Linked DNA regions of Homo sapiens: all the other regions are linked to region 1. The links are contacts of gene promoters, found by promoter capture Hi-C in blood cells and fetal thymus (Javierre and others, 2016). All regions are on one chromosome and are shown on one strand. The core of a region is centred on a gene start or on the middle of the fragment in contact, and the rest is flanking DNA. Distances in the headings are between cores, read along the strand shown. Region 1 holds the start of RBP5 (retinol binding protein 5). Region 2 holds the start of ZNF384 (zinc finger protein 384). Region 3 holds the start of PTMS (parathymosin). Region 4 has its middle 26 kb from the start of APOBEC1. Region 5 holds the start of COPS7A (COP9 signalosome subunit 7A). Region 6 has its middle 45 kb from the start of APOBEC1. Region 7 holds the start of ING4 (inhibitor of growth family member 4).

Evidence for each region. Contacts are between HindIII fragments. The CHiCAGO score rates a contact against its expected background, and 5 or more counts as called.
Region 2: the fragment with the promoter of ZNF384 here is called in contact with the fragment with the promoter of RBP5 in region 1 in 1 of 17 cell types (activated CD4 T cells); the score reaches 5.5 in activated CD4 T cells.
Region 3: the fragment with the promoter of PTMS here is called in contact with the fragment with the promoter of RBP5 in region 1 in 1 of 17 cell types (activated CD4 T cells); the score reaches 5.1 in activated CD4 T cells.
Region 4: a contact is called between a fragment that was not itself captured here and the fragment with the promoter of RBP5 in region 1, in 11 of 17 cell types (fetal thymus, non-activated CD4 T cells, naive CD8 T cells and 8 more). The highest score is 9.4, in fetal thymus.
Region 5: the fragment with the promoter of COPS7A here is called in contact with the fragment with the promoter of RBP5 in region 1 in 6 of 17 cell types (naive CD4 T cells, total CD4 T cells, activated CD4 T cells and 3 more); the score reaches 7.3 in naive CD4 T cells.
Region 6: a fragment that was not itself captured here is called in contact with the fragment with the promoter of RBP5 in region 1 in 1 of 17 cell types (M0 macrophages); the score reaches 5.0 in M0 macrophages.
Region 7: a contact is called between the fragment with the promoter of ING4 here and the fragment with the promoter of RBP5 in region 1, in 4 of 17 cell types (non-activated CD4 T cells, naive B cells, total B cells and 1 more). The highest score is 6.8, in non-activated CD4 T cells.

The regions. Positions count from the first base shown.
Region 1 is chr12:7,127,559-7,130,258 of GRCh38, forward strand. RBP5 (retinol binding protein 5) reads right to left here and starts at 1,331. Exons shown (of 4, transcript NM_031491.4): 1 at 1,145-1,331; 2 at 682-860. The coding sequence starts at 1,217. It also overlaps a transcript of CLSTN3 not described here. RefSeq lists a silencer at 2,570-2,669. The HindIII fragment of the contact is 14,463 bases long and covers 1-2,700 here.
Region 2 is chr12:6,687,959-6,690,658 of GRCh38, forward strand. ZNF384 (zinc finger protein 384) reads right to left here and starts at 1,417. Exons shown (of 12, transcript NM_001385745.1): 1 at 1,140-1,417; 2 at 209-268. RefSeq lists silencers at 1,266-1,375, 1,456-1,535 and an enhancer at 1,269-1,895. The HindIII fragment of the contact is 17,984 bases long and covers 1-2,700 here.
Region 3 is chr12:6,765,113-6,767,812 of GRCh38, forward strand. It overlaps PTMS (parathymosin), which reads left to right and starts at 1,251. Exons shown (of 5, transcript NM_002824.6): 1 at 1,251-1,638. The coding sequence starts at 1,594. RefSeq lists silencers at 1,116-1,445, 1,556-2,055. The HindIII fragment of the contact is 8,838 bases long and covers 803-2,700 here.
Region 4 is chr12:7,638,197-7,640,896 of GRCh38, forward strand. No RefSeq gene overlaps it. Among named protein-coding and RNA genes, the nearest start is that of APOBEC1, 26 kb to the right of the region's middle. RefSeq lists an enhancer at 1-184 and silencers at 626-755, 1,837-1,936. The HindIII fragment of the contact is 2,319 bases long and covers 236-2,554 here.
Region 5 is chr12:6,722,688-6,725,387 of GRCh38, forward strand. COPS7A (COP9 signalosome subunit 7A) reads left to right here and starts at 1,359. Exons shown (of 8, transcript NM_001164094.2): 1 at 1,359-1,492; 2 at 1,927-2,131. The coding sequence starts at 1,970. RefSeq lists enhancers at 1,284-1,493, 1,524-1,663, 1,794-2,013. The HindIII fragment of the contact is 1,412 bases long and covers 45-1,456 here.
Region 6 is chr12:7,619,176-7,621,875 of GRCh38, forward strand. No RefSeq gene overlaps it. Among named protein-coding and RNA genes, the nearest start is that of APOBEC1, 45 kb to the right of the region's middle. The HindIII fragment of the contact is 1,164 bases long and covers 866-2,029 here.
Region 7 is chr12:6,661,731-6,664,430 of GRCh38, forward strand. It overlaps ING4 (inhibitor of growth family member 4), which reads right to left and starts at 1,389. Exons shown (of 8, transcript NM_016162.4): 1 at 1,335-1,389. The coding sequence starts at 1,371. RefSeq lists an enhancer at 1,360-1,419. The HindIII fragment of the contact is 5,227 bases long and covers 503-2,700 here.

The sequences.
Region 1 (2,700 bases), core at 81-2,580:
ATTTTTCCCAAATATTTTTCCATTTGCAGTTTGCTGAAGCTGTGGATGCAGAACCCATGAATATGGAGGGCCAACTGTATTTTGTAGGCAGTTGAAAACATTGCCCTGGAGCTCAGGAGATGGCTCTGGCTGGAGAATTCATGCCAAGGGCAGCCTATAGATGGAAGCAGAAGGCATGGGTGTAGATGATTTAGCCTATGGATAGTGGGCAGACAAAAGGGAGAAGACATTAAGAACAAAACTCTGCGGAGAAAACTCCAGTTTAAAGGATTAATAGGAGGACTAGGATCTGCAAAGGAGGCTAAGAAGGAATATGTAAGAAGTAGAAAGAAATGCAGGAGAGTGAAGTTATTGATGCTAAAGTAAAAGGGACTCTGGGTGACCAACAGTGTCACAGGCTGGAGGGTGGGCAAATGTTTGCTCTTCGGTCTGGGTTGGCCTGTTCTTTGCCCTTTGGGCTGGTGATAAGAGGGGGCAGGGAAGAAGTGGGAGAGAGACAGGGAGCACCAGGACCTGTTAGTTCTGGAGACTGGTATCCTGGGGACTGCATTCCCTGCTGTGGTGACCATTCCCCTCCTCCCCGCTGCTCTGGCTGGGGAAGGTCACTTTGTTTTGCCCCATGTTGTTAGGAGTCTCCTGTGATGCCTCCTTCCGGCCACCGCCCAGCCAGGGGAAATGTACCTGGCATTTTCGTCCGTCCACGCTCCTGAGGTCCTCCTCAAACTCCACTCCCACATCAAACTGCACAGTGTAGTTTCGGAAGGTGCTGAGCGTCCTCACCGTCATGTGGTTGCCCTGGTGTTCGATCTCCTTGTCCGGCTTCAGCAGCAGCGCGATCTTCCGCACAGCCAAGCTGATGTCTGTGGGGGCTGCCTGTTAGTAGGGGTGCTGCTAGCCAGCCAGGAGCTCCTCTGCCTGCAGCAGCCCCTCAGGGCTGTGAGTTTCCCTTCTTTGGGTCTGGGACTGTGGATTCACCCCCTCCTACCAATGCCTGGTTAGAAATGGATCCCAGGTCTGGTGCCAGCCGCCTGAGCCTTTCCACAGTGTCCAACCCCGGGCATTCCCTCTTCTCCATGGGACCAAGAAGCAGGAAGGAAGAGGGGAGAAAGGGAGTGACAGGGGTCTGGGAGGGCGAGGCCATTACTTAGGGCTTGCAGGTAGTCCTCCATGTTCTTCTGCGAGACAAAGCGGTAGTAGCCAGTGAGGTTGGGAGGCATTGTGTGGATGAAGGTTTCAGGAGAATGCAGGAGACAGGGTGAGGAAGGAGGGGGTGTTGTCTGGCAGGTGAGGCTGAGAGATTCCAGCCAGCTCCACACACAGAGACAGGATGTGTAATGGCCGGGTTACCAGGGCTTTTTATAAGGCTGGGGCCCTGTTGCAATAAGAGTCCCTACCAGACTTCTTCCCTCCCCGCATGGTGAGTTTGGGGGTGGTGTCTCCAGCCTGAAGGAGGGGCAGGGATTTGGCAAAGTTGCGCCTGACCTTGGCTTTTCCTGAGGAAGGAACCTGGAGCAGGATCCTTCCTGAGGAAGGAACCTGGAGCAGGATCTGGGGCTGTCAGTCATCCAAAACTCAGCCATCCAAAGGTCAGTGTTGGCCTCCACCTCATTTCTGGCAGGCTTGGGAACCGTCCCAGGGCCTGAGGGGCAGTCTTTCCTGGGAGACACCTGAGGCTGGTCTGGCTGTGTGAGGTGGAGATGAGTTCCAACAATATCCTGAGATCCTGGGACTGAGTGATGTTGGAAGATGTGAGGGGAGGGGGTGAGGATGGCCAGCTGCCACCATGAAGAGCACCCTGTAGGCCTGGCTCTCAGAGCTCCCTCAGGTAGTGTGCTCAACTGGGACCCCAAAGTGGCATTCCAGACTCTTGGTCCTAAAGAGCCATTAGGAGGGAGGTGGAGCCCGAGGGGTGCTGAGTTCAAAGTCCGGAACAGACAGCCTGAGAGGAGTTTGTTGGCTATTCTGGAGAATTTTATTCTTTTTGGCTTGGGACCCAGGGGGTTTTCTCTCCCTCTGAGTCATCGATGAGACCGTAACCCCCAGTCCCCAGCCCTAGGACAGCCCATGCTTTCCAGATGTATTTCTGTGAAGGTGGGGTGGAGGCGCCTAAATAATATTGTGCCCCGCCCCCAGCTGCCCAATTCTCTCTCGAACCTGCCATCGTCCCGGGCTTCAGAATCCACTGGGCTTGGTTCATCATGGTTTAAGGTGAAATTCGGGGCGAAGGAGGCAGGACAGGTAGGCAGGAGGAGGCGGCCGGTCCCGACAGGTGCGTGCGCGAGGGGTGCACGACGTCCTGCCCCTCCTTGGGTCCCAGAGCCTCGATACCGCCCTGCGGACCGCCCTGTGGCTTCCTCGCAGCCCTGGGCTACAAATGCCAGGATTTCTCAGGCTCAGACTGAGGGTTTTACTTCACCCTTCCCAGAGGGCACGCAGCACGGATCTGTGGATGGAAGGGGCTGTGGAAACAGGTTATGGCAGAGTTGGGGGGCGGGGTGACGCGGTGCCACCCCTCCTGGCCGCCCTCAGGTCCCGCTGACGTCTCTCTTCCCCACCCCCTGGCTTCTGGCTTCTTTCTCCCCACGTCCCTCTTCTTTCCCACCCCCTCCGTGGCTCTCCAGCTTCCTCCCCAGCCCCCGCAGTTCCTCGGCTCCCCCAAAATTGCAGCCAGGGGAAGGAGCCTTGAAACTCTCCAGCCCC
Region 2 (2,700 bases), core at 167-2,666, 440 kb before region 1:
GGGGGATAGCGCCAACTTTTTACACAAAAACTTCCTGACCCTCAAGAGATAATAGAAAAAAACTGATTTCTCTCCACAACAATCTCAGCATTACAATTGCTATTACTTTAAGTATTCTATCACATTGTGAAACACACACACGCCCCATTTGGTTGTGACCCCTTCTCCCCCAAAACCAGAAAAGCCATTAACCCAAAAATCATCTTACCCTCTCTCTCTCTTCCTCCTGCCGTCTTATTCCTTCTCCTTTCCAGGGCTCCTGAACTTTCTGTAAACAAATTGTCTAGGTTACAGGGGCCAGGCAGGGTGCAGCCACCAGAGAACTGTGGAGAACCTCAGGAATTATTTGTCAGCAGTCAGTCTGGAAGGCAGGCAGACCCCCCAGCCAGCAATCCAAAGACGGGTGGATATAATAACAGCAGTCTAGTGCTACCCTCTACGTGGATACAAGAGAAATAAATCCAATTCCCAGAAACTAAGACGAATTCTATCACCAGCGTTTGGGTTTCACTCCTAGGCTCAGAGACTGGTCCTTGTTCGTTCCCAGGCCACAGGTAACCAGGGGTCAGAGAACATTAGAGATGGAGGAGGAGGAGGGTCTGTGCCCCTGAGGAGTGGCTTCAGAAGGCAAAGCTGAGGGCTGGGGGATGCACAAGACCTTGTGGCAGGCACAGTGCCAGTTCAGGCCCAGCCACTTCCTCTAGCCTTCCCCCCACTTCTTCGAGGACTTCGCCCCCTGCCTACCCGAGGCCTTGTGCCAAGAAGTACCTCCCTCAGCCTGCACCGTGGTCTATCTACTGGAGACCCCAGCTGTCCCCTCAAAACCTTCGCTCCCCTGAGACAGTTCCTGGGAGCCTTCTCCTGATGTCGTCCCCTACCCCTTTCTCAAAGACCCTTCCTTGGGACGTCCCTCCTTCCCCTCCAGGGAGCTGAACTCTGCCACCCACCAGACAGGCACCCGCCCCCTAAACCCCCCCATTCCTTCCCATCGCCCGCTCCTCCACAACCACTTCCGGTTCCGGGACGGACACACACACAGTCACATCGTGGACCCCCCCTTCCCCGCCTGCCCAAGGAAAAGGGGAGGGGGGAGGAGCAAGCAGCTTGGCGCGCGCCGGCTGTAGCGGCGCGAGACTCACCGGGCGGCGACGGCTGCGGCGGCGCCAGAGCCTGAGCCAGGGCGCGGGAGGGGCGGCGTTTGCTGGGAAAGGAGGGAGCCGAGGAGGGTGGGAGGACCAGGAAGGGGCGAGGGAGGGGAAAAAGCGCAAGGCGCAGCGCGCGGGCACGCACTTCTGGAGCGAGACAGACCCACACACTCACACGCACGGAACGCGCGCGAGACACCCGCAGGGCGGGGGCGCGAGGTAGTGGGTGGCCCCCCCTCCTTGCTGCCCTCCCCTTGCACTCACCCGGAAGTGGTGCTGCAGCTCGTGCTCCCGCGAACCCCAGTTCCTCCACGCCCCCCTCCCTCCCCCCAACAGGCTCAGAGAAGAGCTCTGCGGAGAGAAGGCGGGAGCGCCGGAAACGAAAAGGGGGGAGGGAGGGAAATAGCAATGTAGGGGGGGCGCTAATGGAGAAAGAGGGGCGTGCAGAAGCCGAGTCACTTCCGGGAGTGGCTGGAACACTTCCGGCGCCGCTAGCGCTGCGAGATATTCAGGGCAGAAGTTACGATAACTCGGGGCGGAAATAGCTTCTGCCCAGCGACTGGGAAGAGGGGATGTGACGCTATAGCGGAAGTGAAGGCGGGTTCCGCTAGGGGCAAAAGCTGAAACCGGAGGACTCCGGCCCTGAGCTTCCGGAAGGGACATCTGGGGAAGGTGGGGGGGTGGAAACGCGACAGGTTCATGAATTATCCATCAAGGTAGGAGAGGAGGTGTGGGTTCTTCAGATGCTGGGACCCCGTTTCTCTTCCCTCTGGATGTTGAATAAGCTGATGTAGGAAATTACCATTATTTTTTCTGATACCCCCAAGAATGTCTCAATGCTTTGAATATGCGGGAAAGGACTAGGACGTATCCTTGTTTTTCGGAGGTCCCTACTTAGGTCCAGTTAGAAACTCTCCCAGCCATCAAAATCTGTCTCTCTGACACATCCCTTACTTTACTTTGGTCTTTTCTTGTTGCCCATACCCACATCTCTATCCCCTTACCCTGTTTTACTTAAATATAGCACTTATTACTGCCTGATTTATTGTTTGCTGTCCACCTCTCCCAACTAAAATATTGGCTACAGGACAGCGAGGACTGAATTGTTCGTTGCTGTATCCTCATATCCTGGCAGTTAAGTGGTCTGTAAACTCTTGTTGTATAAATGAACTATAGTTCATTATGAACACCTAAATATGAACCCTTTTAGGAAGCCTTGCCTGATTGCTCCAACCTGTAATGGTCCCTCTGAATTCCCATAGTATTTAATACGTACCTTTTATTGATATTTTAACTATTTCATACATGTGATTCCCCAGCAAGATTGTCAGTTCCTCATGGAAGGAAATACGTTGCTTTGCTGAGCATATAGTAAATGCTGAATATGTTGTTTGAACAAGTGAATGCTGTTACAAGCGTGCACCCCGACCTGGCCAGAATCCCCCTGGGCTCAGCTCTAAGCAGAACTGAGGTCTCTCCTACTAATGGTAAGAGCCTCTTGCTGAGAAAAATAACCTTTTTTTTTTTTTTTTAAAGACAGAGTGTCACCCTGTTG
Region 3 (2,700 bases), core at 1-2,500, 360 kb before region 1:
AGCCTTCCACTCTGTCCACCTTCCTGACCTTTAATACACAACCCAGCCCCTGTTCCCTTCTGAAATCCCAAGCTTTTCAAAATGACTCAAAGATACCGAGATTGAGGGCGAGGAGCTGAGGATGTGTGGAATAGGGTGGGGCTGGAACTCCAGACCTGGACCTGTATTATATTTGCAAAGGAGGCAAATATAACCCAGAAAGGCTAGGGAAGATGGCAGCAGAGGAATGAGAAAAGCTGAAGGATGGAAAATGTAAAAAATGAGGACAGAAAGAGGAGTTGAGGAAAGCCAGCCAAGAATAGAGGGCCAGGTGCCTGACTCAGATAAGACAAGAGCAGGGTTGTCTGGGAAAGATAGGGAAAGAGACCAGAGGTGGAAGGGCAGAAGAGAGTCAGTGAGGAGTGGAGAAGAGGTGAGAGAAGAATGGGAGCGATTCGAGTTATAATTGGTTGTGAAGGAGGGGTCTAGGTACAGATGACTGAGGACGGATGAAGAGAAATAGAAGGACCAGGCGAATAAAAGTGAGGTGAGACGGGCGAATAAGAGAGGTAGAAGATGGAAGAGAGCTGGAAGACAGCAAAGGAGACCAGGGGGCCTGACTCCCCCCGGCTCACAGCACGGGGCCAGGAAGGGAGGCACCCGGCAAGGGTCACAAGTGTCAATCTGGCGGGACAGAAGGCTGGGCCGCCCTTTCTGCCCTCCCATCCCTCCTCAAGGCCATCCAGAGAATGTGGATGGAGGATGAGAGGGGGAAATCCGGCGTGGTGTGGAAGGAGCGCCCGAACCCTCTTCCTCTTCTTTAAGCTTTTGGTTTCTCAAATACCTGCCCTATCTTCCCATCTGCTCCCCTCACCCCACCCCTTGGCAAAATCCCAGGGCTTTTTTTGGGGTCAGTAGGATTCTGGCCACCTCTCCAGTCCGCCCCCAAAAGCCAGACTCCACATTCGCAGGCAGTAGGTTGGGATTTGGAAAGGTGCCTCCCCGCAGGAACCCCACCCCTTCCCACCTCCTCGCCCCACTCTTTCTCCGCGGCCGTCAGTCTCTCCATTTCCCCCTCCTGGTCTCGTCCTCCCTCCCGACTCCCTAGCTCTCCCTCCCCTCGCTTTCATCCTCCTATCCCCACCTCTCCAACCTCCTCTTTCATCCCCCTCCCCTCTCCTCTCCTCCCCGCTCCCGCCTGCCCCACCCCTGGGAAGCCCCTCCCGTCGGGCAGCGCCGCCTTATAAGCGGGTTCCCTTCCCGGGGGCGGCAGCGGCTGGTCGGCGGCAGCTCTGCTGGTGCGGGGGCGGCGAGCCCGGGATCGAGCTACCGCGGCCGAGCGCGCCGGCCACCGCCTGCACCGCCCTTCCGCCCGCCCTCCGGACGGCCGCAGCCCTGCGGGTCTCCGCTCCAGACCCACCCCCGCCCCACCCCGCGCGCCTCTGCCGCCTCTTCCAGAGACCCAGCTTGCCGAGCGGCCGCCGCTGCCGCTGTCGCCGCCGCCGCCGCCACCGCGCCAGGTTCCGGCCGCGGCCACCCTCCGCCGTCCAGGGCCCCTCCGTCTCGGCCCCGGGACCCCGGCTCCCCGCCAGCCCCGGCCCCGGCCCCGGCACCATGTCGGAGAAAAGCGTGGAGGCAGCGGCCGAGTTGAGCGCCAAGGTACGGGCGGGGGCGGCGGCGGCCCGGACCTCGCGCAGCCCTGGGGCCCGGCGCGGTCCTTCGCCCCAGGCCGCCCCCGACGGCCCCGCGCGGCCCTTGCGCCCGGGTCCTGGCGGACCCCACTGCGCCCTCCCACCGCTCCCCGGCCCGGAGCTCCTTTCCCGGCTCCGCGCGGCTAGCGCCAGCGCCCTCTAGCTGCCCTGCGCGCACCACGGCGCCCGGCCTCGCCGCTCCGGTCGCGCCGTCCCCCGCAGCCGTCCCCACCCCTCTTCGGCCCCACCTCGCTGACCGGATCCCGTCCGGCTTCCCGTCCGAACGCCCCGAGTCTCACTTTGCCGCGCCCCCTCCCTGCGCCCCGCTGCCGCGTCTTTGCTTGCAACCTGACCTCACCTTTCCTCGCTAAGCGGTTTGAGATCCTCAAGTGTAAACAGGACTCTCCCTGGAGGCTGCTCCTCCGGGCCCCTCCCCGCGGCCCGACCGTCGCTCGCTTCTCTCCCCGGACGGCGGCCGCCTCTGTTTTCTCGTTCCCTCCCCTCAGCTGGCTTTCAGCTTTCTTTTCTCTTCATCGTCCCCTTCCCGCATACACACTGAAAGAATCTCGAATTCCTAAAAATTAGAAGCGGGGCAGGACTAGCCTTCGAAAAAGCCGAGGCTGGGCATTGCATGGCATTGCGTCGAGCTGTCCTCGCCCTCATCAGCTCCCTTCCCCGGCCCCATCCGTTCGCCCTTGCCTCTCTTCCAGCCTTCCTCTAATTTCCCCAGGGAACCTGCGGAGTGTCGCTTTGGGAAATTAACGCGGCCGGGGTTTGGGGGCTGGGAGCCCTATCTTGTGTGTGTATGTGTATGGCGGGGGGGGGGGGCGCGGTGGTTGCTGAGGGGCCGTCACACAGGTCTCCCGGAGGCCCGCGGAGTGAAACGGGGGGAGCCAATGGGATTAACGGCGGTGGGAGAGGGGCTGTGTGCGATCTGCCAAGGTGCGCCCGTGTGGCCCTCCGGCGGGCTGTGCGGTGGCATGTGACTTCACTGAGTAGGTGTCTTTGTATGTCTGAAATCCAGCGAGTG
Region 4 (2,700 bases), core at 145-2,644, 510 kb after region 1:
TGATTGCCTCCAGATAACATGGATATCATGGTGACCTGCATTTGCATATTAAAGGAGTAAGGTAGGAGTGCCAGGTTTTTCACGGGCTATGTGAATGACACGCCTGGTCAAACCAATCTCCTGGGCCCTATGCAAATTAGACACCTCCTCCTCCAGCCTCCTGCTATAACAAACTACTCTGCCACACACGGGGTTTCTCTCTGGGAGCCCCCCTCCCTCTGTCCCTGTACTGGGAAGCTTCTTCCTTCTTTCTTGCTTATTAAACTCTCCACTCCTTAAAACCACTCTACATGTGTCCATGTCGCTTTATCTAAAACGATGTTAGACCAAGGACCCTGCTGTTCTTCCATTCATCAGAGCAGTTATCATTTTGGTTGCATTGACCGGGAATTCATTCATCGGAGTGGTGACTATAGAGCGAGCCCCAACCTCAAATCTCTCCTTCAATTTCAAGGCTCTCTTCTTACTATCCTGTTGCAAAATTTTCCTTCTTTCTCTATCCACGGTCTCTTACTCTCTCTCTGTGAAAAGTGCAGGGAGTTTTACAGTTCAGTGAAACAGGTCTGCTAGGAAAGATGGCAAACGCAGCAGGCAGTAACTCAACAAGCCCGCTCTCTGTGGCTGCGCTGGTGAGCATATAGTATTTCTAAGCCAACAGCGCCACCTAGTGGAAGTAGAAATCCTCTTCAGGGGCCACATTTTTTACGGTAACACTGAACTTCCTTTTGCACCACCAGAAATCAGGCTCTAACCTACTTCTGTGAACCGGAAAGTTCTGCCTTCAGCAATTAGAAGTAATATGTCCTCGACCGGGCATGGTGGCTTACGCCTGTAATCCCAACACTTTGGGAGGCCAAAGCGGGTGGATCACGAGGTCAGGAGTTCGAGACCAGCCTGGCCAATATGGTGAAACCCCGTCTCTACTAAAAACACAAAAATTAGCTGGGCGTGGTGGTGCACACCTGCGGTCCCAGCTGCTCAGGAGGCTGAGGCTATTGAATTGCTTAAAACGGGGAAGCAGAGGTTGCAGTGAGCTGAGATTACGTCACTGCACTCCAGCCTGGGTGACAGTGAGACTCTGTCTCAAAAAGAAGTAATATGTCTGCTGCCACATTTTAGTCTTGATATTGTCCCATAAGCAGGAAAATGGCCATTCTGTTCCTACGCTCTTTTAAGACATCTAATCTGTTTCCTGTTAAAATGGTATAATTAGTAGGGAGATTTTAAGTTCAGAAGTTAACCAGAACCATTTTTCTGAGGGTAAATGGTTTGGCATGGGCCATAATAGCAGGCAGTCTAGCACATTGCCTCTGTTAAAGGAGCCTTGACCAAAAACAACACAGTCTCTCCAAAGATCAATTTTTCAGGGAGCCAGGTAGATCACATAGGCTTAGGAAGTCAAAGGGAATCACACAAGGCAGATAAGCTAAGGTTGCGTGGGTAAAGTGTGGTTAATCCCATTGAGAGGTGACAGCGTGCTAGCAGTCCTCACAGCTCTCGCTCGCTCTCGGCGCCTCCTCTGCCTGGGCTCCCACTTTGGCGGCACTTGAGGAGCCCTTCAGCCCACCGCTGCACTGTGGGAGCCCCTTTCTGGGCTGGCGAAGGCCGCAGCCCGCTCCCTCAGCTTGCAGGGAGGTGTGGAGGGAGACGCGCGAGCGGGAACCGGGGCTGCGCGCGGCGCTTGCGGGCCAGCTGGAGTTCCGGGGGGGCGTGGGCTTGGCGGCCCCGCACTCGGAGCAGCCGGCCGGCCCTGCCGGCCCGGGGCAGTGAGGGGCTTAGCACCCGGGCCAGCGGCTGCGGAGGGTGTACTGGGTCCCCCAGCAGTGCCAGCCCACCGGCGCTGCGCTCGATTTCTCACCGGGCCTTAGCTGCCTTCCCGCGGGGCAGGCCTTGGGACTGCAGCCCGCCATGCCTGAGCCTTCCCCCGCCTCCGTGGGTTCCTGTGCAGCCGGAGCCTCCCCGACGAGCGCCGCCCCCTGCTCCACGGCGCCCAGTCCCATCGACCGCCCAAGGGCTGAGGAGTGCAAGCGCATGGCGTGGGACTGCAGCGCCGGTGCGGGATCCACTGGGTGAAGCCAGCTGGGCTCCTGAGTCTGGTGAGGACGTGGAGAATTTATGTTTAGCTCAGGGATTGCAAATACACCAATGGACACTCTGTATCTAGCTCAAGGTTTGTAAACACACCAATCAGCACCCTGTGTCTAGCTCAGGGTTGTGAGCGCGCCAATCGACACTCTGTATCTAGCTGCTCTGGTGGGGCCTTGGAGAACCTTTGTGTGGATACTCTGTATCTAACTAATCTGATGGGGAGGAGGAGAACCTTTGTACCTAGCTCAGGGATTGTAAACGCACCAATCAGCGCCCTGTCAAAACAGACCACTCGCCTCTACCAATCAGCAGGATGTGGTTGGGGGGGGGCCAGATAAGAGAATAAAAGCAGGCTGCCCGAGTTGGTAGTAGTAACCCGCTCGGGTGTCTCTCTGCCTTGGTGGGGCTTTGTTCTTTCGCTCTTGGGGTCCATACTACTTTTGTGAATTACAGCACTCACCACGAAAGCTTGCGAGACCACGAGCCTACCGGGAGGAACGAACAACTCCCGACGCGCTGCCTTAAGAGCTGTAACAGTGACCGCAAAGGTCTGCAGCTTTACTCCTGAGCCCGCCAGACCATGAACCCACCAGAAAGAAAAAACTGAACACA
Region 5 (2,700 bases), core at 109-2,608, 400 kb before region 1:
CAGAGCGAGACTCCGTCTCAAATTAAAAAAAAAAAAAAAAGATAAGCTTGGGGCGGGGAGGGGTGGATGCAAAATAATAATAATAATGTTTGGACTCATTAATTCCTTGCTTCCTTCAAACTCTGAATATTTTATTATGCCTTTGATTCCTTCTACTCACTTTTGTTTCACCTTTTCCATTCATTTCTTCTTCTCCTCTTCCTCCTTTCTCTTTCCTTTCTGTGTTTCTGCTTATTTTCTATCACAAACCAAAATATGCGGACCATAAACTGCATCTGCAGTTCCTTTAGCCCTAACAGACTACGAGTCCTATTTCTCTTTATCTTTCTCTTTTTCACTTTCTTGTCTTTCCATTACTTACAAGTTTCTTAATTTTCCTGAGTTCAGTTTTTCCATCTGGAAAGTGGAGATAACAATTACTAGATCGTTGTATCAGATGAATTAAGTAATGCTCATGGCTTAACACAAAGGCCAAGATGTCATTAACTTTACCCTCACTTGACCTTCTGCAAGCCTGTTGTGAAATATAAAACACTATAGAAATGTTAGTTGTTTTTGTTTTTATTAAAGTATCATATTGAAGTAGAAAGATGGTTTTGAGTTTGAAAAGCTCCAGATAAATCCTTGGATTTTTATGAGCCTCAATTTCCTTTTCTGTAAAATGAGAACCACATAGGGTTTTTTCCTCCCCAAGAAATTAAGAGTCCATGTACTGAAAGCATCATTCTACAAGTATTAATACATATGTAGTAATCATGGTAGAGGGTGTCCTGAAGTCACAGGGGAATATTTGTGAGGATTCAACGGAATAAAATTTTAAAAGATGTCTGACCAATAGTAAGCACTCAATACATGTTAGCTTTATTCTCTCTTTTATTTTTCTCGCTTCTTTTCTCCTGCTCTTCAAAAAAGTGAGTGGTTGAACCACCTAGGTGATCTCTGCTGCTAAACTTCTATTATTGATTTTTGTTTGCTTCCTCTCTGCCCCTTGTTTCCTCATCCCGTTTTTTTCCCTCTTCTTCACTCCTTCCGTTACAGCTTTTCTCTTGCCTCAGGTACCCAGTGCAGTCCTGATCTCCAGCTCTCCAGCGGCTTAGAACAGACACAGAATGGGCCGGGACCAGGGACCCACCAGAGACGTCTGTAGTTAATAGCTGGCGCTCTTCCACTAATAAAGTTTTATTGAAATAAAGCATTTAAAAAGGCGCCCGTCATTCTTCCCCCAGCGACCAATCGAAGAGTAGAATGCCTGCGTCCCTCACTGGAGCTTCAGCGGTCGGAACGCGGGGGTGGGGCATGTCCTGCCGAAATTTGCGTCCTTAGAGCGGAAGTACGGCCGGAAGCCCGCCATAGAGTTTAGTGGCCAGAGCGACTCTTCAGGGAGGTGGCAGGAAAGGCTTGGAACAGCTGCCGGAGGTGACGGAGCGGCGGCCCCGCCCGGTGCGCTGGAGGTCGAAGCTTCCAGGTAGCGGCCCGCAGAGCCTGACCCAGGGTACGACGAAGCAGTCGGCGGGAGCCCACGGTCGCTGGGCGGTGTCTTTAAGGGAGGGGGCGGAGCCACGTGTAAGCTTCAATGGGGGTGAGGTCACGTGGTTGTGGGCGCGTGCGGGGCAGCAATGGAGAGCTGAGGGAGCGTCGTCAGGGTGGACACCATGCGACACCCATTTCTCCTTTGCATCCTGTGTCTTGGGGTTCAATGGGGTGCACGTGATGGGGCTTGGGGTTAGGCCCAGGGGAGGGGGTGGGTGTGGCAGCCTTGCGAAGTGGCTGACTTTAGGATTCCTAGATCAGAATTTTAGACCGCTCCATGTCTGATTCCTCACCGCAGAACCGACTTAGTGCCTTTACAATCCAGTCCCTCAGCCTTGTGCTTCCCATCCGACCAGCCATCGGGGACCTCTAGCTTCACATCCTCTTTCCTTGCAGCTCTGGACATCCTGAGCCCAAGTCCCCCACACTCAGTGCAGTGATGAGTGCGGAAGTGAAGGTGACAGGGCAGAACCAGGAGCAATTTCTGCTCCTAGCCAAGTCGGCCAAGGGGGCAGCGCTGGCCACACTCATCCATCAGGTGCTGGAGGCCCCTGGTGTCTACGTGTTTGGAGAACTGCTGGACATGCCCAATGTTAGAGAGGTGGGTTGCTGGCTTGAATAGCCCTCAGAGAAGCGTGGGCAAAGGTTTGAATTTGAGAATGGGTGGGCAGGGCTCATTTTGTGATCCAATAACCATTCAGTTGAACAAGAAAACAGTGATAATTAAATGCCAACTTGCAGAAGTAACCAGTGAACAAGCAAACCAGCTCTCCTTTGGAGATAAGGGATCTGTAAAGCCCACTATTTTTCATTTTAAGCAAAAGAGCATCCTATTCAGAATAGGAAACCTGATTTCCAGCCGGTCTCCACCAGTGTAGTAGCTGTTAATTCTCATGTCACCTTGATCAGGTCACTTTTGTTTTAGGGCTTCAGCTTTCTCTTTTTTTTTTTTTTTTTGAGACGGAGTCTTGCTCTGTCACCCAGGCTGGAGTGCAGTGGCGTGATCTCAGCTGAGTGCAAGCTCTGCCTCCTGGGTTCACGCCATTCTCCTGCCTCAGCCTCCTCAGTAGCTGGGACTACAGGCGCCCGCCACCATGCCCGGCTAACTTTTTTGTATTTTTAGTAGAGATGGGATTTCACTGTGTTAGCCAGGATGATCTCGATCTCCTG
Region 6 (2,700 bases), core at 198-2,697, 490 kb after region 1:
AAAACTCAGACTATCACATGGTAAATATGAGTAGATGCTGAGGAAGAACAGGTGCTATATTTTTATAGCATCCATATGTTTTTTAGCCAACAGATACAACAGATATCTAAATCTAGAAACTTTTTTCTCCATGACTTCCCCAGGGTAAATAAGTATACAAGGAGTAATGGCAGATGAAAATGTCCTCCTCTAATTTTCTTTTTACTTTCCTAGTAGCATTTTGTCTTGACTACTAAAAGAATATATCTTCTAAATTTTTTTTTCTTTTTTAGTTTTTAATGACTGCCTTCCACAAGGAGCTGCCTCAAATACTGAAAGCTTGGTTTTTCCTCCAACTCTGAGCTTTGTTGATTCCTAGGGCCAGTGATTCCTGAAACGAACCTATTGCAGAGAGGGGCCTATTAAGTTTGATACTTAATCCTAGCATTAAAGTTACATAGGAAATATAGTTAGAGTTATATAAGGAATAATTCCCTATAACTTTTCTCTATCTCCCAAGAAAATAAAACAAGCCATATATAGTAAGTGTTCTCATTTCTCTACGTTAGCTTCACCTGCATCTGTAGTTGAAACAGTCTGGGCCTTTGAAACTTACAATCATTATAAAGATTTACATAATAAATAAGCCAGAGACAACTTTTTTTTACTCTCAGTCTTTAACTTAAAAGGTTGTTATTTAGCTTCACAAGGATATTATAATATAGATATTGATCAATTTTCAAAACGTTTTGATGGTACTAATTCAAGTACATTGTACTTGAAATTTGATTCACAAATTTCTGAGCATTGCCCATAGTATAAACCTGGCTGGGTATATATATTGAAGTTTCTTGATTTAAACGTATGAAAATTGTGTCAGTTTTTAAGCTTAATGAAGGTATGGCTCATGAGTATAATATATCTTCAAATGAGATTAACACACAAATTGACTTTTCTATGGTCATTGACCTTGATTAGTTATGCTTCTCTGGCTTTTGGTCAGCTGTGGAAATTATATAAGGGTTGCAGTTTAGGTCTTCATAGTTTTTGTATTCATAACTTCAGTAATATTGATGGCCTATGTTTTTTAGACTCAAAGAAGGATTTTAATAATTGATAATTTATTAATTTTAATAATATAATAATATTCATCCAATACATTAGTTAGCGGCTAAATATCTTAACCAACTGGCTTTACTCTACTTTTCCCTCCCTGGAAAAAAAAATGCAGAAGTGCCCCCCTACCGCTGCAGAATTGAAGCTGCTCCTTTAACTTTGCAAATTCAGTGTGAAATTTCACCTCAGGACTTGGTGAAAAGAGGTTTAATCTCTGTCTTTAGATTTATAGACTAATGCTCACTCAGCCATTTTTACCTTGCTTCTCCCTATGTTCATTAATCGTTGATTATTCTCAACAAACCACAAAAACACTGACACATTATAATTTGGTGCCTAAGCCAGAATAGTGGGGACTGCCTTCCATCTTCTTTTTGTTTTTTTGTTTTTGTAGCTTGTGGGCTTTTTAAAATTTTTATTGTTATTTGAAGTTCTAGGGTACATGTGCAGGACATGTCCATACCAAATTGGGTCAGCCAGAAGCTATGTATTAGGAGATGATCAAATCTGTAATGTTATCATTGCTGCCTATATATTTGCAATAATTTTTTATGGTTTTACCTATTCTAATCAATGGTTTCAGTAATTTATTAATTCCATTAATAATTGGGGCTCCAGATAAAGTATTCCCAGAAATACAGAATAGGTTTCTGACTTCTGCCCCTATCATTCCTCCTCTTGCAATAGTCTAAGCTGCTGCTAAACAGGGTGACCAGTCTACCCACCTGTTTGGGGCTTTGCCACAGTCTGAGCTGTCAAAGTGTCTGTCAAAATCTTAGGTTTATATGTATTTTGGAGTTGAGGTCAATTACTCACATATGTGGTCTGATGAGGTGTGACATAACACTCTTGCAGGGAGGGGGAATTACATTTTCCTATCACATCAAAATATACGTTACTCAAGTAGCAAACTATGGAAGTGGAATCATTTTAAAGCTTTAAAACAGCACTTTTAGCTGGAAATTTAGCCCAGGCAGGAGCTTCTGTAGATCAAACCATTTTCTCATTACACTTAGCAAATATTTCATCAATGTTAGATGCTACTAATTTTAACAGTTATTAATATTCAACCACAAACTATATCCAACATCAAAAATTGATATTTATTTGATCTGTATTAATTACAGCTGTGCTCTTGCTACTTTCTCTTCTAGTTTTAGCGCTGGCATTACTACACCTGTGCTATTCACAAACATAACCTTAATACTACTATGTTTGATCCCACAAAAAGAGGACACTTAATTTTATATCAATGTTTTTTTCTAATTTTTTCTCTTACAGAAGTTTATATTCTTATTTTATTCAGATTTAGAAGAGTTTCACATGTTGTAACATATTCAGGAAAAAAGAATTATTCAGTTACATAGGAATAGTCTAAAACATAATATCTATTGGTTCCCTAAGATTCACTGTATACACCTGATATGGCTTATACACGATTGAAAAGGCAAGCCATAGGCTGGGAGAAAATAATTGCACATCAAATATTTAATAATAAGTTTGTATCTAGAATACATAAAGAACTCTCATAACTCAATTTTAAAGAGTAAACAATAGGCAAAAAGATTTGAACAGACACTTCCCCAGGGAAGATAGTCACATGGA
Region 7 (2,700 bases), core at 139-2,638, 470 kb before region 1:
ACCTCACTTTCTAAGCAGGAAGAAGCCACCTTAGATTCTTCCTTCTCTCTCAACCACTCAGTCATTCAGTCAGTCCTTTCATATTTAACTCCTAAATACTTCTGTAACTCCCTAAAATCAGGTTCTTATCTCTGTCCTGGAATGTTATCACTAATTGATCTCTGTTATCAACAATATCATGCTCCAATTTACCATATATTAGTCATTTTCCTCTATAAAAATCATACTCTACTTTAAAATGCAAACTTCTTCGTTTGGCTTAAAAGACCTTGTCCAATCTAGCCTCAGCCTCTTTCTCCAGTCTCCTTTCTCAATTTCTTACCTTAGATTCATAAATATCAAATACGCTGACCTCTGAGTCATAAATATCAAACACCCTTGACCTTGCCACAAACCCATCACAGTACCTTTGCGGATGCTTTCCCCAACCTGGAATTCCTTTTTTCTCTCCTCACTGGCAAATAACCTTCAAGACCCTATTCAAACATCACCTCCGCTGTAAAGCTTTTCCTACATCCCCAGGTAATTACCCCCCTTTTCTCCAGGGTTGCCTACCAAGTGTCCTTTTTAATGTATTTCCATTATCTCACTTGTCACAGTGTTTTATAATTATTTGCAGAATCTGTTTCCTACTAGATCGTGAGCTTCTTGAGGGCAGGAGCCTTGTCTTACTCATTTTTCTATCCCTAGTGCCTGCCATTATGTCTGACCCATAGCAGGACCTCAATAAATATTTGTTGAATAAATGACTCCGGGCCCTAAAACAAATGTAAGCGCACAGAGCAATAGGCTTTCTGCAGGGGTGGTTTACATAAATCGCATAAACACCAGATTTTCATTTGATGGGAATTAGATCTTTACTCCATGAAGAGAAGCGTTCTAGTTCATCATCTGACAGTGGTCACTCATCACCACCACTCTCAACCCCATGAGAAGCCACTTTTGAGGAAGAATGGAGTGGAGGAGAGGTCTTTACCGCTTCTCCAAATGGCAGTGTGTGATAACGATTCTGAACGACTATGGGGAAAAAAATCTACCGAGGCTGGAGACCCTGGAGAATGGGGGCAGCAACTATCTTCCTGGCCATGCACACTAGCCCTTCAAGACACGTCTCTAACCCCCACACCGCACCCCTCCCTCGTCTACACCCATCAGCGGGGCCTCGATCCTGCTGCCCCGCCCCCTCTTTCTCCGCACCCTCCAATATTTCCTGCCACAGAACCGCTTCATAATTGTGACCTTCTCGTCACTGGAACTTAAGGGCTACAGATCCTCTCATCCCTGATCCCCGCACCACTCTGCAGCCCCGACCCCCACCTCCAGCCTGCTCTTACTGTCCAGATAATGTTCCAAATACATCCCCGCAGCCATCTCGAAGCAAAACAAAGCAACTTCCGATCCGCCCCGGAAGTGACTGTAACGCGACAGGGGCCGAAGCCATTTTGCGGCTAAAGCCTTTCCGCCCTTAAAAGGAGAACTTCCGCCCTTAAAAGGAGAACTTCCGCCCTTAAAGGAGAACTTCCGCCCTTACTATATTACCGCCGGTACACATCCGCCCGACACTGAAACTTTTCCTTTTGCATGGTAGCCACGACCGCCCACAGTGAGGCGGCTGTAGCCCGCTTCCGCCCTTACAGACACCCCAGGACGCGACCGAGACAGGTATGACGTCACTGGAGGTCGCCATTTTGCATTCTCTAGCAAACTTTTTTCCCTCCAAAACGGGAATGTATGGTAATCCGTGCAGGGGTAACTGTTCACTTTAGGCTCATATTGCGTAAACATACCTTCTCAGCAACTGGAAGATCCAACTTTTTTTCCCTCTTTTGCAGAATGACTTTTTTCAAGCCAGTTAGTTTCTTAAGGAAGTTGGGGAAGAGTATCAGGCCTTGAGACATTTAAACCGTCTGAATTTCTATTCACTCACACAAACACCATCTCCCCCAGCATTATTTTTTTAACTTGAGAAAGATGATCACCTTTCTACTTATAAATACAAAGAATGACTCATAATAAAGCTATAATTCTGCACATCTTTTGTCAGAGCTCCTGTACGTTACACTAGAATACACTTTCACATATAAAATATTACTTCCTGCCTTGCCCTCTTGCTTTTTTTTTTTTTTTTTTGAGACAGAATTTTCACTCTTATTGCCCAGGCTGGAGTGCAATGGCGTGATCATGGCTCACCGCAACCTCCACCTCCCGGGTTCAAGTGATTCTTCTGTCTCAGCCTCCCGTGTAGCTGGGATTACAGGTATGCACCATCACGCCAGACTAATTTTGTATTTTTAGTAGAGATGGGGTTTCTCCATGTCGGTGAGGCTGGTCTCGAACTTCCGACCTCAGGTGATCTGCCCACCTCAGCCTCTCAAAGTGCTGGGATTACAGGTGCGAACCACTGTGCCTGGCCCCTCTTGCTACTCTCTAAGGGGGAAATCTCGTGTTTTTGTTTTCCTTTTGTTTATATGTGATGTTAGCATCATAATTCTGAAGGGATTGAGGGATGCAGCAGTATCACTACTGGGCTAGTTGGCTAGTTAGTTGCTAGCCATCACTCTAGTCAGCTATGGTAGAGTGATTTCTATGGTTTTCATCAGAATGGGAAGCAGTCAAGGGTATGAGAGGCTGCCAACACACTAGGCTGTCAACACACTGCCAACACAAAGGCCATAACCTAATAGTGGTGTTAGTAAGATA